Linked DNA regions of Homo sapiens: all the other regions are linked to region 3. The links are contacts of gene promoters, found by promoter capture Hi-C in blood cells and fetal thymus (Javierre and others, 2016). All regions are on one chromosome and are shown on one strand. The core of a region is centred on a gene start or on the middle of the fragment in contact, and the rest is flanking DNA. Distances in the headings are between cores, read along the strand shown. Region 1 has its middle 21 kb from the start of DNAJA2. Region 2 overlaps ITFG1-AS1 (ITFG1 antisense RNA 1). Region 3 holds the start of SIAH1 (siah E3 ubiquitin protein ligase 1). Region 4 overlaps C16orf87 (chromosome 16 open reading frame 87). Region 5 has its middle 8.4 kb from the start of GPT2.

Region 1 (2,794 bases), core at 268-2,767, 1.4 Mb before region 3:
GATGTCCAGGATCATGCTAGACCTCTCTAGCTCAGAGGTCTCTGGTCCTAAGGTCAGATCTTAGGACCTAGAAGCTAGCGACTTTCAGCCATAAGACATGTCCCTGAGCCAATGAGGTGAGAAAAGATTTGGATGGAGTTTCACCATGTTGTTCTGTCATGCCACTGCTACCCACATTAACAGGCTTGTTTGGAAAGCCTGGGAATCAGGAGGGCTTGGGGCTAGGGACAGGCTATACCTTCAGAGGGAACAGCTCAACTCTCCCAGTGAGCTCTCTGGAATCGAGCTTTAGATGCCTGGGCAAGGCCAGAACATTGTAAATGAGTCCAGCTGGAATCAGTTGCCAACAGGGGAACCCAGCTTCCCAATGACATCAGGATTAGCACATAAAGCTTGGTACTGGGCTGTCTTCGGGTGGATGTTTCCCTACAAGAATACCTGTATTTTTTCAGGAGGTGTCTATACAGGCATTCTCCTTCACTAAATCTTGCGTTCTCTAAAATTAAGTAGATCCCCTTTTAAACATAGATCCCCATTTTATAGGCTTGATTTTGCTGTGAGTCACATCATAGCTTTCAGGACTTAAAATTGTGCCTAAATAGGTAAAAACATTAGCCAGGCATGGCGGCACGTACCTGTGGTCCCAGTGACACAGGAGGCTGAGGCAGGGGGATCACTGGAGCCCAGGAGGTCGAGGCTACAGTAAGCTTTGTTTGTGTCACTGCACTCCAGTCCGGTGAGCATGAGACCCTGTCTCCATTAAAAGAAAAAAAAAAAAAGTAAAAATGTAAGTAATCATTACTTGTTTGCCAAGCAAAATATTCCTGCATGAGGTCCTTGTGGTGAAGAAGTTAAGAAATCAGTGCCCAACCGTGTTGCACTATATTCTTGTAAAATATATTTTGGTTCTGTCCCCTAATCCTCATGTGCTAACAGGGATGTATTGTTTTTTCTAGAGCTCCTTTGCAGGGATTTAGATCATTATTTCAGATCTTCCAGATCTTAGATTTGGTTTAAGAGGTCAAGAAGCACTTCCTTCATTCATAAATATTTATTTAGGTTCTACTATATGCCAGCGTTCTATGCACTAGAAGCTTAACTTTGTAATCTGGTTTGAAGCATTGTGTACAAATGCACAACGACATATGTATGAAGCTGTTACCCACAGCATTGTTTGTAATAACTGGAAACAATTCGAACATCTATCAATAGGTAGGAAATGGTTCATTCAAACAACAGAACTTTAAAATCATTAAAAATAGATCTTTATGTATTACTATGCAAATATGCCAAAGGAATAATAAGACCAAAAGTTGTAAAAATAAGTTATTTTATCCCATTTTTGCATACACACATGTGAGAAATTGGTAAAAATGATTGCATCTGGGAACAGGTTGGAAAATTTAGTTCTATATGTATTAAAAACAAAAAAAAAGACCAAGGCCGGGCGTGGTGGCTCACACCTGTAATCCAGCACTTTGGGAGGCCAAGGCGGGAAGATCACTTGAGGTCAGGAATTAAAGACCAGCCTGGCCAACATAGTGAAAACCCGTCTCTACAAAAACACAAAAATCTAGCCAGCCGTGGTGGCGCATGCCTGTAATCCCAGCGACTCAGGAGGCTGGGCAGGAGAATCGCTGGGACCCAGAAGGCAGAGGTTGCAGTGAGCCAAGACTGCACCACTGCACTCCAGCCTGGGTGACAGAGGGAGACTCCGTCTCAAGAAAAAAACAAAATGAAACAAAACAAAAACAAAAACAAAAAACCAACTTTGTGTTGATAGTCTCATGAGCACATGATTTGGATTGGGGGAGATTAATTTTTTAAAGTCGATAGTTCTATGTTTTTTTAACGATCATGTATTGCTTTCCTAACAGAAAAAAATAATTTGTATACTATTTGTAGATTATGAAAGGGGATACCTATTCACACATAGAATGGTAAGCTTCATCACTGAAGATTCTCAACCCACCACTGGTATAAGCTTTCTCAGGTTCTTTTCTTCCTATAGCTGGGAAGTCAGGTTTTCTTTCTTTTTTTGGGACAAAGTCTCGCTCTGTTGCCCAGGCTGGAGTTCAGGGGTGCAATCTTGGCTCACTGCACCCTCTGCCTCGTGGGTTCAAGCTTCTCCTGCCTCAGCCTCCCAAGTAGCTGGGACCACAGGTGTGTGCCACCATGCCCGGCTAATTTTTTTGTATTTTTAGTAGAGACGGGGTTTCACCGTGTTAGCCAGGATGGTCTCGATCTCCTGTCCTCATGATCCGCCTGCCTGGTCCTCCCAAAGTGCTGGGATTACAGGCGTGAGCCACTGCGCTCAGCAGAAGTCAGGTTTTCTAACGTGTTTAGCTTGACTCACAGTGGCACTGGCTAATGGTTCACTTTGACCAGAGATTTAACTGAACTTCTTTTGGAAATTAAAAATAACCAACCATACTTAAAATGTTCCCTAGAAGTCTGTGCCAGGTGATGTGGGCTTCCTAATTTTACGAAATCTTTTGCAACTGAAGATTATTTACAAGACTTTTGATGGCCGAGCACAGTGGCTCATACCTGTAATCCCAGCATTTTGAGAGGCCAAGGTGGGCAGATAACCTGAGGTCAGTAGATCGAGACCATGCTAGCTAACATGGTGAAACCCCGTCTCTACTAAAAAATACAAAAATTAGCCAGGCGTAGTGGCACGCGCCTGTAGTCCCAGCTACTTGGGAGGCTGAGGCAGGAGAATTGCTTGAACCCGGGAGGTGGAGGTTGCAGTGAGCTGAGATTGCGCCACTGCACTTCAGTCTGGGCAACA
Region 2 (2,700 bases), core at 143-2,642, 1.2 Mb before region 3:
TCACCAATACCGCACTCTGTTAATCACCCTAACTTTTTCTTTCTTGAGACAGAGTTTCGCTCTTGTTGTCCAGGCTGGAGTGCAATGGCATGATTGGGTCACTGCAACCTCTGCCTCTTGGGTTCAAGCAATTCTCCTGCCTCAAGCCTCCCGAGTAGCTGGGATTACAGGCTTGTGCCATGACGCCCGGCTAATTTTTGTATTGTTAGTGGAGACAGGGTTTCACCATGTTGGCCAGGCTGGTCTCGAACTCAGATGATCCACCCGCCTCGGCCTCCCAAAGTGCTGGGATTACAGGCGTGAGCCACCATGCCTGGCCTAATCACCCTAACTTTATTATTTTGTTACCTGGTAGAGCAGGTCCTTATTCTTTTTCAAGATTGTCTTGGCTGTTCTTGGTCTCTTATATTTCCGTGTACATTTTAGAAACCTCTTAGCAAGCTCGGCAACACAACACCCCGTTGGGATGAGTGGAATTGGGAGGGCTTTGACATCTTTACAATTTTGAGTCTTCCTGTCCATTAACATGGTTACAGATGTGCATTTATTGAAAATTTCCTTAGCGTTTCTCAGAGAAGTTTTATAATTTACCAGACAGAGATGTATGCTACATCTTGTGTTATACTAATTCCCAGGTACTTGACTTTTTCGATGCTGTTATAAATGTTACCTGTTTTTAAATCCCATTTTCTAATTGTTCATGCTGGCGTATAAAAATGCAATTGATTTTAGAAAGTGCCAAACTGTTCTCTAGAGTGGCTTTCCTATTTTGCATCCCCACCAGCAATATATGAAAATTCTAGTTTTTCCTCATCCACATTAGCACTTTGAATTGTCAGTATTCTTTGTTTTATCCATGAAAGCACTTTTTATTCATGATAGATGTGTATTGGTATCTCTTCATAGTTTTAGTATTCATTTCCCTAATGGCATATCCGGTTGAACATCTTTTCATATGCTTGTTTGCTACCTATATATCCTCTTCAGTGAAGTATCCTCAAATTATTGCCCACTCAAATTGTTTTTTATTTTTACTGGTGAAAAGATGTCCATTTAGAATTAGCCAGCTGGACTCAGTTTAGATGATTCCAATTTTGTTGGCAACATCCAAAGCATCATAAGCAGGAGCCAGTCAAACACACGCCTTCTCTCCATTGGGCCTGATTGATCAGGCTACATCAGTGTTGCAGAGCTTCCCCACATCCTGTTTGCTCTGGTGCTTGTTGGCTTTGCCATCCACGGTGACCTCAAGTGTGTTGTTATCTTCTGTCTTCTTCATGGCACACTCAATGCTCAGGGAATCGGGCAGAGTGATGAAGCTTGTTTCTCCTGGGGGCACTCTTCTGAGGATATCTGGGTTGTCTCTAGAGCTGTAGTGTTTTGGGGTGCTGGAAGGTGGGTGAAGTGCAGATACTCCTTTTTGTGTGTGGCTGTGGATGCTTTCCAGCACTGCCTTCTTGGCCTTCAAAGCTTTTGCTTTGGTTTCAGCTTTGGGAGAGGCAGGAGCTTCCTTAGGTGTCATCTTGTCTGAGTTTTTGTATTGTTGAGTTTTGAGAGTTCTTTATAGATTCAGGATACAAGTCTGTTGTTGGATATGTGATTTGAAAATATTTTCTTGGCCGGGCATGGTGGCTTATGCCTATAATCCCAGCACTTTAGGAGGCTGAAGCGGGTGGATCACTTGAGGTCAGCAGTTCGAGACCAACCTGACCAACATGGTGAAACCCCATCTTTACTAAAAACACAAAAATTAGCCAGGCATGGTGTCACACACCTGTAGTCCCAGCTACTTGGGAGGCTGAGGCAGGACAATTGCTTGAACCTGGGAGGCAGAGGCTGCAGTGAGCCGAGATCACACCACTGCACTCCAGCCTGGGTGACAGAGCAAGACTCCATCTCAAAAAAAAAATTTTTTTTTCTTTGCATATATAGCTTGTCCATTCTCTTGGAAGTGTCTTTGTCAAAGCAAACATTTTTAATTTAGATGAAGTCACATTTATCAGTTTTTAAAAAGAATCATAACTTTGGTGTCATTTCTAAGAACTCTGCTTACCCCTAGCCTATGAAGACATTCTATGTGTTCTTTTAAAGTTTTATAGTTTTACATTTTATATTTGAATTTATGACCCACTTTGAGTTAATTTTTGTGTAAGGTGTGAGGTTTAGATCAAGGTTCTTTTTTTCTCCTTTGCCCTTTGTATTTATGGCAAATACAGATGATCAATTGTTCTGACACTATTTGTTGAAAAGACTGTCTTCCACTTAGTAACTTTTACATCTTTGTCAAACATCAAATGTCTATATTTGTGTGAGTTTATTCCTGGACTCAATTTTATTCCATTGGTCTATGTGTCTCTCTTTGCCAATACCACACTATCTTTATTACTCAAGCTTTATAATAAGTTTTAAAGTCACATAGTTTGATTTCTTCAACTTTGTCTTCTTTTTCAACATTGTTTTAAACTAGTCTAGTTTATTTTCTCTTTCATATAAGTTGCACAAAATCCTGTCCATGTCCACAAAAAGATACTGCTGGGATTTTGATAGGGATGGTGTGAAATGTACAGATCACTTTGGGGAGTACTGGCATCTCCTAATCCATGAACACACTGTCTTTCCATTGAAGTCTTCCTTGGTTTCTTTCATCACCTTTCTTCTTTGTTAATATGTGCATTTAGTGTTATAAATACCACCCCCCAG
Region 3 (2,700 bases), core at 136-2,635:
AAGGAAAGCGAAGCACAGAGAAGTATCTGCCCAAGGTCACAAACCAGTGGAGCAGGATTTGACCCAAAGCAGACAGTCGGACTTCACAGCCCGTGCTCTCAACATCCAACTGCTGAAGAGTTAACAATTTACCCTTGACAGCCGCTATAAGCAAAGGTAAATGCTCAACTGCTAGGAAGGGACAGTCAGAACACCGTCCCATATCCAGTATCCATGTCTCTCTGTTTGTTTATGGCCTCTATGACTTTGGCAAAAGAAGTACACACAATCTGATTTTCCGAACACCCAAGCTGGACTTTTCTGAATGTCCGAGCAAACAAATTATGTATCTTTCCAGGAACGGGCAGACAGCGAAAACGAACCTACGCATCGGAGTGGCCCAGGTTATTCACTTTAAGTTATAAATTTGGGAGAGTTAAGAAAGGACCCCAAACTACCCGGCAAATGAACCCTAGGAAATGCCAGGTTTATAATAAGCTAGAGCTTCCCCGGCACGCCGTTCACGCGCTCTCCTCTCTAACGACATAAACAAGGGAGGAGGCTGCATTCTTCCCACTGCACAATGAAGCCTCCGGCCGAAGCGGCAGGAAGAGCGCAGCCCCGTCCCGGACGGCTCCAGCCGGGGGTCGGGGGCAGAGAGCGGAGGCCGAGGCCCGCCGAGCGGCGCGGTGCGGCCCGGGCCTCCGGGCGCCGCGGGGAGGAGGGGGAGGGAGGGCAGGGCCCCGGCAGCTGCCCGCACTCAGCTGACCTCCGCCATGTTGGCCGCACACCCCGGGACCCTCCACAACAAAGGCCGGCACGAGGGCGCGGGGCGCGCCGGGCGCCACCCCCGGCCGGGCCCGCCTCCCGGGCGCGCGGGGGCCGGGCCGCCGCCGAGGCCCTTCCCCCGCCCTCGGCCCGGCCGCGCGGGGCCGACCCCCGCCGCCACCCCGCCGGGCCCGGGGCTCCAGGGGCGGGGGCGAGCCGGCTTGCGAAGGCTGAAGGCAGGGGAGGGGCGGGGGGCGGCGCTCGACCGGGCGGCCCGACTCCGGCCGAGACAAAGGCGCCGCCGCGCCGACTACTGCCCGCGCCCCGGCCGGGCCGCCCTTCCCGCCCTCCGCCATTACCGGGCCTGGGCGCCCGCCTGTCGGAGAGCCCCTCGCCGCCGGCTCCTCCCTCAGGCCGGGCCCCACTTACCTGTGGGCGGAGAGCGCGCCTCGGACCCCGGTCCTGGCACCAACGCGCTCCGTCGCCAACCCCCGCCACCGCGGGCAGCGCCACCGCCTCTTCCCGGCGCCGAGACCGACGGGACACCCTGGGCCGCCGCCGCCTCTCGAGAGCGCGCCCCGCAACGGCCGCCCCGGCTCCCCCCTGGCCGCCGCCGCCGCCGCCGTTTCGCGCGTCCTCGAGCCCGCCGCGCGCCCCCGCTAAATACCACACACTGCGGCGGCGGCCATGAGGAGGCGCGGCCCCGCGCGCTGGGAGCCTGGGGGGGCGGGGCTTTCGCGGGCGCGCAGGCGCACAGGCGTTGGCGCGGCCGGCGGCGGCCTCCGCGGGCGTAGCTGTGCGGGTCTCCAAAGGCGGCAGTAGGTGCGGGGGCTACTCGGCTACCGTTGCTGCGCCCGTGCACCGCGCATTCAACGGATCCTGGCACGTGGCGCTCTGGCCCGCGAGAAGCTAGCGCTTGCCCGTCGGCTCAGGGCAGCTCCTCCCGCGGCGCTTTGTTCCGGGGCCGCGTGACCCCCCCGGCTCCGGCCGGAGGGGTCGCCCAGCGGGATGCGAGCCCCAGGCTGGCCGCCGCCGCGGCCTTGTGCCCTCCCCCTTGTTTTGTCTGCTGATTTAGCCCAGCGCCTCCACGGATCCTTCCCAACTCCACTCAGTCCCAAAGAAAAAGCGGCTGCCCTGCCCGCCGACCGGGACCCCACCCCTAAAGAGAGTCCCAGCCTCTCCCGAGGTTGAGCCGCTCCTCAGCAACAGCGGGACGAGCTTCAAAAGCTTGTTTCAGCTGAAAAGTGGGTAATGGGGAAGCACGCGTTTTCCTGTGTCCATGCTCATCTGGAAAGTCCCTAATTAGGGACTCTGCATTCCACTTCTTGAAATAATAAAAGGAAAACATCACTTGCAATTCTTTGATGGGTGCTATGAGCAGAAGCAAGCATCTGAGACATTTACAAGCCCTAACTGGAATTCCATGTAAGATCTATTAAAATGGTATTCCGTCCGGACGCGGTGGCTCACGCCTGTAATCCCAGCACTTAGGGAGGCCGAGGCCGATGGATTACCTGAGGTCAGGAGTTCGAGAGTAGCCTGGCCAACATGGTGAAACCCTATCTCTACTAAAAATACAAAAATTAGCCGGGCGTGGTGGTGCACGCCTGTAGTCCCAGCTACTCGGAGGCTGAGGCAGGAGAATCGCTTGAACCCGGGAGGCAGAGGTTGCAGTGAGGCAGAGATCAGGCCATTGCACTCCAGCCTGGACAACAGAGCGAGACTCTGTCTCAAAAAAATAAAAATAAAAATAGAAAAATCCCATACCGGGCACGTATGTACAAATTCCCAGTGTATGATAAAGTTTATATGTGCAAAACACTAGTTTACAGTATTCCTAATTACATGATTTAAACTGCAATTTTACTTTCACATTTTTGGGGAGAAGTTATAGCTCCTCAGTACACGGGAAGGTCAATAGAGTTCGGTTCACTTCAGTTTAGAGGTAAATTT
Region 4 (2,700 bases), core at 115-2,614, 1.6 Mb before region 3:
CACAATTAACATCTTGGTGTATATTCTTCCAAGTTACTTTTTCAGGATCCCCTGATTCTATTTTTGTTTATTTTGTTTTGACAGTCTAATCAAAGTTAAATGCATATAATTTACAATCAAATCATTTTTATAAAACTTGTTAAAAAAAAAAAACAGAAGTCCTTTGCCCCATACACATTTTCCACTCTCCAAATGCAACTACTTTTTTTGTGACTTTTTTTTTCAGTTGTTCCTTTTTGCTTTTACAAAAACAAATCTCTAAGTAACATTTGTACAAGATGCTACTTCAGGGTTTTAGGCATTACTGATTCACTTTCCACCAGGGAAAATAAGGGTTACACTGTTTTGCATCTCTTGCCCCAATAAACACTCTGCCCATCCCTCATCTTCTCACTATAATTAAATCACAACTTTAGTAACATCAGTTTTCAGTGATTACATTATTATGCCTATGGTAAGTGATTTTTCACTTTTCCTTTACATTGTTTTCCCTGAAGTGATTCTCTTTTTACTTGCTTAGTTTTCATTTCTAACTCAACCCAATGTCTTTCCTAGTTGTATAAATTGTTTTTCAGGATGTTTACACGTATCAGGTATTTTATCATTTTTATCTTCTTGAAGAAATCGCTCCAAGTCTTCCAACCTGCTCCAGTATGAAATGATTGCTCTCTAGGCCTACTGCAAAATTATCATCTTGTGCTCTTTCATCAGCATCATGCTGGAGACTCTCATCTCTAGAGTTGGGTGGACCCACCTTTGTCTTGAATCCAAAGATCCTTTCTTGGTTTATTTCTTCATTTTGGTAGCAGGTAACTTGTAGGGGCTTCCTGAGAAAGGCAGTATTGGTAGCAAATTTTTTGAGACCCTGAATGTCAGAAAATATCTTTAGTCTACCTTCACATTAATTCATAGTTTGATTGAGTATAGACTTGTAGGTTTCCGCTTAGAACTGTGAAGGCAGTAAACTGTCTTCTGACTACTGGTGCCATTGTTGAGAAAACCAATACCTTTTTTATAGTTATTTTTAAAATCAATGATAAATTTACATATAGTGAATACACAGATCTTTTATGTGTTCAACTGGAGGAGTTCTGACAAACATATACAAACATGTAACCCATGTCACAATCAACATATAACAAATTTCCTCCAGAAATTCCTCATGCTTCTTTCCAGCCAATCCCTCTCTACACCTACAAGCAACCACTGTTCTGATTTCTATTACCACAGAATCATTCTGTCTGTTCCTAAACTTCATATAAATGGCATCATATATAGTATGTACTCTTTTGTGCCTAGCTTATTTTGCTCAACATGTTTTTGAAATTCATTGATGCTAGTCATATATCAGTAGTTTGTTCTTTGCTGGGCAATATTGCATTGTATTAGTTCCAATATCATTTTGCTTTTCTTTTTTCTGAAAACCTGAAAAATTTTATTTAACCAAAGATATGAGATATGATGACGAACTCTGGTATAATTTCTCTTTTTAACCATCATTTCTCTTTTTAGACTGGGAATTTGTAGGCCCTTTTAACAAAGAAACTCAATGTCCTTCAGGTTGGAAAAATTTTCTTGAATAAATAATTGTCATTGTTAAAGTCGTTGATGACTTCCTTCTCCTCCATCTTCCATGTTCCTTATCTGAAACTTTAATTATTTACAGATGTCAGACCTCATACTGGTCCTCTAAATTTCTTAAGGTTTCCATTCTGTTTTTTCCATCTCTTTTCAATTGTTATAGTTTCTGGAACCTTTCTTCAATTTTATCTTTAAGCCTTTTATTAAAGTTGTTCATTTCTGTGTATCATCTATGTTTTGGGGTTTTTTGGAATATTTTAAAGTTCATTTTCCAACTGGCTTTTTGACCTCTGCAATTTCCTTTTAAATATCACCTTGTTCATTTTACAATTACAATTGCTTCTTTTGCTAAAGATATTAATAGTAGTTTATAGTTTTTCTTTTCCCTGCAAAATCTTGCTTTTTTCCAAGTTATTTTTTCTCTCCTGTTGATTTGGTCTTAGCCTTTCATACTATAATAGATGCTTTCTTCCAGATATCTGGGTAATTCTTGGCAATATGCTCATATTTAGGAGAGTGACCAAAGAAGCTGATTAGAAACATACACATACGTGGAGCTTGACTGTAGTCATCAGATTAGGATGATCCAATTAGGCCACTTCTCTGTGAATCTCTAATGAGAGTATCTTTATTTGGGGCCTTTTCTCTTGGGTCCTTCGGATTCTCTAGAGAAGATATGTTCAAACTTTTTTACTTTTTTTACCTGGACGCTAATAAGCCAAACTCAAGAACTCAGCATTTACTATGTCCAATTTTCACCTAGGCTTCCTGATCTTAACATGGTATCCTGGCCGTCAACAGACACCTGGTGTTCCTGAGACCAAAGACTGTATTATTTACCTTTTTCAAAGGATAAACCTGGGGGATAAGAGGGTAAACAGTCCTGGTGGGCTACTCATAAAAAGACTTGCAAACAATCCTCTCATTTTTAGCCTCAATTTCACTTCTACTTCCAGACATAACTGATACACAAATTCCTGACTTTTAGGTAACTGTGTAATAAAAATCAGTTTCTTTCTTAGATTTCCCCAAAGGAGTTTAGAGCTAGATGTGTTTCTTCAATCCACAATCTTCAGCTTGAAGTCTACATTCATTTTTTTTTTTTTTTTTTTTTGAGAC
Region 5 (2,700 bases), core at 25-2,524, 1.5 Mb before region 3:
GCACTCCATCCTGGGCGACAGAGCCAGACTCCATCTCAAACACAAACAAACAAACAAAAGAATCGCTTCAACTGGGGAGGTGGAGGCTGCAGTGAACCAAGATCATGCCATTGCACTCCAGCCTGGGCAACAGAGCACGACTGTCTCAAAAAAAAAAAAAAAAAAGTCCAAAAGTCCAGGTGCAGTGGCTCAATGCCTGTATGTAATCCCAGCACTTTGGGAGGCCAAGGCAGGAGGATGGCTTAAAGCTCAGGAGTTTGAGACCAGCCTGGGCAACATGGCAAAACCCCATTTCTATTAAGAAAATATATTTTAAAAGTCTAATAAATATTACCTATAAATGTTATATAATATTATTATTAATAAAGCTGGGGGTGGGATGGAAAGAGAGCATAAGGAGGAATAGCTAATGGATGCTGGGCTTAACACCTAGGTGATGGGTTGATCTGTGCAGCAAACAACCATGGCACATGTTTACCTATATAACAAACCTGCACGTCCTGCACATGTACCCCAGAACTTAAAATAAAAGTTGAAGGAAAAAAAAAAAAAAGAAAGCTTTGTGCCAGGCCTACCTGGTGCTAAACCCAAATCATAGATAATACTCTAGGTAAATAGTTCTGCCCGTTTCTTCTGAAGAATGAATAAGAACTAGAATTCACACTTTAGGAGACTGAGGCGGGAGTATCACTTGAGCCTAGGAGTTTGAAACCAACCTGGGCAACATGGCAAGACCCTGTCTCTAAAAATTAAACATAAAAAATCAGCCAGGTATGGTGGCAAACTCCTATAGTGCCAGCTACTCAGGAGGCTGAGATAGGAGAATTGCTTGGGCCCAGGAGTTCGAGGCTGCAGGGAGCCAGGATCATGTCACTGCTCCAGCCTGGGCAACAGAGCAAGACCCTACCTCTAAAAAAAAACAAAAAATAGAGGCCGGGTGCAGTGGTTCACGCCTGTAATCCCAGCACTTCGGGCAGCCGAGGCGGGTGGATCACGAGGTCAGGAATTCAAGACCAGCCTGGCCAACATGGTGAAACCCTGTCTCTACTAAAAATACAAAAATTAGCTGGATGTGGTGGTGCGTGCCTATAATCCCAGCTACTCAAGAGGCTGAGGCAGGAGAATTGCTTGACCCGGGAGGCGGAGGTTGCAGTGAGCCGAGATCATGCCACTGCACTCCAGCCTAGGCAACAGAGCAAGACTCCATCTAAAACAAAAAGAAAAAGAAAAAAAGAAAGCAAAGAAAAGAAAAGATACCAAAAAAACTAGAATTCAAAAAAATAAAAGTATAGGCCGGGCGCAGTGGCTCACGCCTATAATCCCAGCACTTTGGGAGGCCGAGGTGGGTGGATCACTTAAGGTCAGGAGTTCGAGACCAGCCTGGCCAACATGGTGAAACCCCGTCTCTATTGAAAGAACACAAAAATTAGCTGGGCATGGTGGTGGGCACCTGTAATCCCAACTACTCAGGAGGCTGAGGCAGGAGAATCACCTGACTCCAGGAGGCAGAGGTTGCAATGAGCCGAGATCGCACCATCGCATTCCAACCTGAGCGACACAGTGAGACTGTGTCTCAAAAATAACAAAAACAAAAAGAATAAATGAGAACTACAAAGCATAGGGCTTATGGTATTGTATGATTATTTTTTTCTCCTGTTTCTAGGTCCCAAAACTATTTTGTGAGCTTCTCTAGTTGAAAAATTCTGTGGCTTTATGAAAATATCTAGGAAAACTAGATAAGTAAACCTTTTGGAAATACTGATTTGAGCCATTGCTTAATATTTTGTCTGTGTTTTAGCACATTCAACAGCTGAAATCACTTGAGTTTGCAGATAAGGATTCTATTAGTCCCTTGGGGTGTTTCTGAAATTGTTTCCATATGTCTTCCATGGCGCAAATAAGAGTCCTCAGATCCCTAAAGATCAGGAAGCAAGAAATCAAGGAATATGGAACAACAAACACCCTCTGAATGAAAGGTTTTATTTGCTCATGAAGCTTATACAATTGTTCATTCGCTACAGCTCTTCCAGCCTCTCCTCATTCTCCGAAACCACCTGGATTTGGTTGAGTGCACTGCCAAGACCGAAACGTGCCTGCCAGTGCTTTGAAATGTTATCAATGCAGTACTGAATTGTAAACACCACTTTTGTAAAATGTCTTTACTCAGTTTTAACCTCTGTAAGTTACATAAGAATGTGTCCCTTGTTTGTGTATAGCTTAGCTTAGTATCATAAGTTTATCTTTAATCCACTTTGAACGTCATGGTGAGAGCATTGGGATACATGTGTCCCGGCTATTAGCTCACCTAAACTAATATTTGCTTGTTAGAGGCAATGATTTGCTTCAAGGAGACTCAGAGCAAGTAGGATCTCAACGAAATTTCCCTGACCATCCCCTAAAAACTTGAGCCTGACTTAAATTAAAAAAAAAAAAAAAGAAGGCCGGGCACAGTGGCTCACACCTGTAATCCCAGCACTTTGGGAGGCAAAGGCGGGCGGATCCCTTGAGTCCAGGAGTTCAAGACCAGCCTGGGCAACATGGCAAAAACTTGTCTCTATGTAAAAACAAACAAACAAAAAAAAATGAGGCCTTCATTTAGAAAGAAAAACATGGGCCAGGCGTGGTGGCTCATGCCTGTCATCCCAGCACTTTGGGAGGCTGAGGCGGGCAGATCATGAGGTCAGGAGATCAAGACCATCC

What was found. The method cuts DNA at HindIII sites, captures the fragments that hold promoters and counts their contacts. A CHiCAGO score of 5 or more calls a contact.
Region 1: a fragment that was not itself captured here is called in contact with the fragment with the promoter of SIAH1 in region 3 in 5 of 17 cell types (activated CD4 T cells, naive CD8 T cells, naive B cells and 2 more); the score reaches 7.6 in activated CD4 T cells.
Region 2: a contact is called between a fragment that was not itself captured here and the fragment with the promoter of SIAH1 in region 3, in 1 of 17 cell types (activated CD4 T cells). The highest score is 6.9, in activated CD4 T cells.
Region 4: a fragment that was not itself captured here is called in contact with the fragment with the promoter of SIAH1 in region 3 in 1 of 17 cell types (non-activated CD4 T cells); the score reaches 5.7 in non-activated CD4 T cells.
Region 5: a contact is called between a fragment that was not itself captured here and the fragment with the promoter of SIAH1 in region 3, in 2 of 17 cell types (M0 macrophages and total CD8 T cells). The highest score is 7.3, in M0 macrophages.

What each region holds. Positions count from the first base shown.
Region 1 is chr16:46,951,197-46,953,990 of GRCh38, forward strand. No RefSeq gene overlaps it. Among named protein-coding and RNA genes, the nearest start is that of DNAJA2, 21 kb to the right of the region's middle. The HindIII fragment of the contact is 851 bases long and covers 1,093-1,943 here.
Region 2 is chr16:47,149,054-47,151,753 of GRCh38, forward strand. All of the region lies in intron 1 of ITFG1-AS1 (ITFG1 antisense RNA 1), which reads left to right. It also overlaps the pseudogene RPL23AP72. Among named protein-coding and RNA genes, the nearest start is that of ITFG1-AS1, 6.3 kb to the left of the region's middle. The HindIII fragment of the contact is 151 bases long and covers 1,318-1,468 here.
Region 3 is chr16:48,384,028-48,386,727 of GRCh38, forward strand. SIAH1 (siah E3 ubiquitin protein ligase 1) reads right to left here and starts at 1,386. Exons shown (of 2, transcript NM_003031.4): 1 at 1,177-1,386. RefSeq lists silencers at 465-734, 825-894, 995-1,814. The HindIII fragment of the contact is 2,947 bases long and covers 1-1,972 here.
Region 4 is chr16:46,803,582-46,806,281 of GRCh38, forward strand. All of the region lies in intron 3 of C16orf87 (chromosome 16 open reading frame 87), which reads right to left. Among named protein-coding and RNA genes, the nearest start is that of C16orf87, 26 kb to the right of the region's middle. The HindIII fragment of the contact is 3,620 bases long and covers 1-2,700 here.
Region 5 is chr16:46,874,590-46,877,289 of GRCh38, forward strand. No RefSeq gene overlaps it. Among named protein-coding and RNA genes, the nearest start is that of GPT2, 8.4 kb to the right of the region's middle. The HindIII fragment of the contact is 1,437 bases long and covers 557-1,993 here.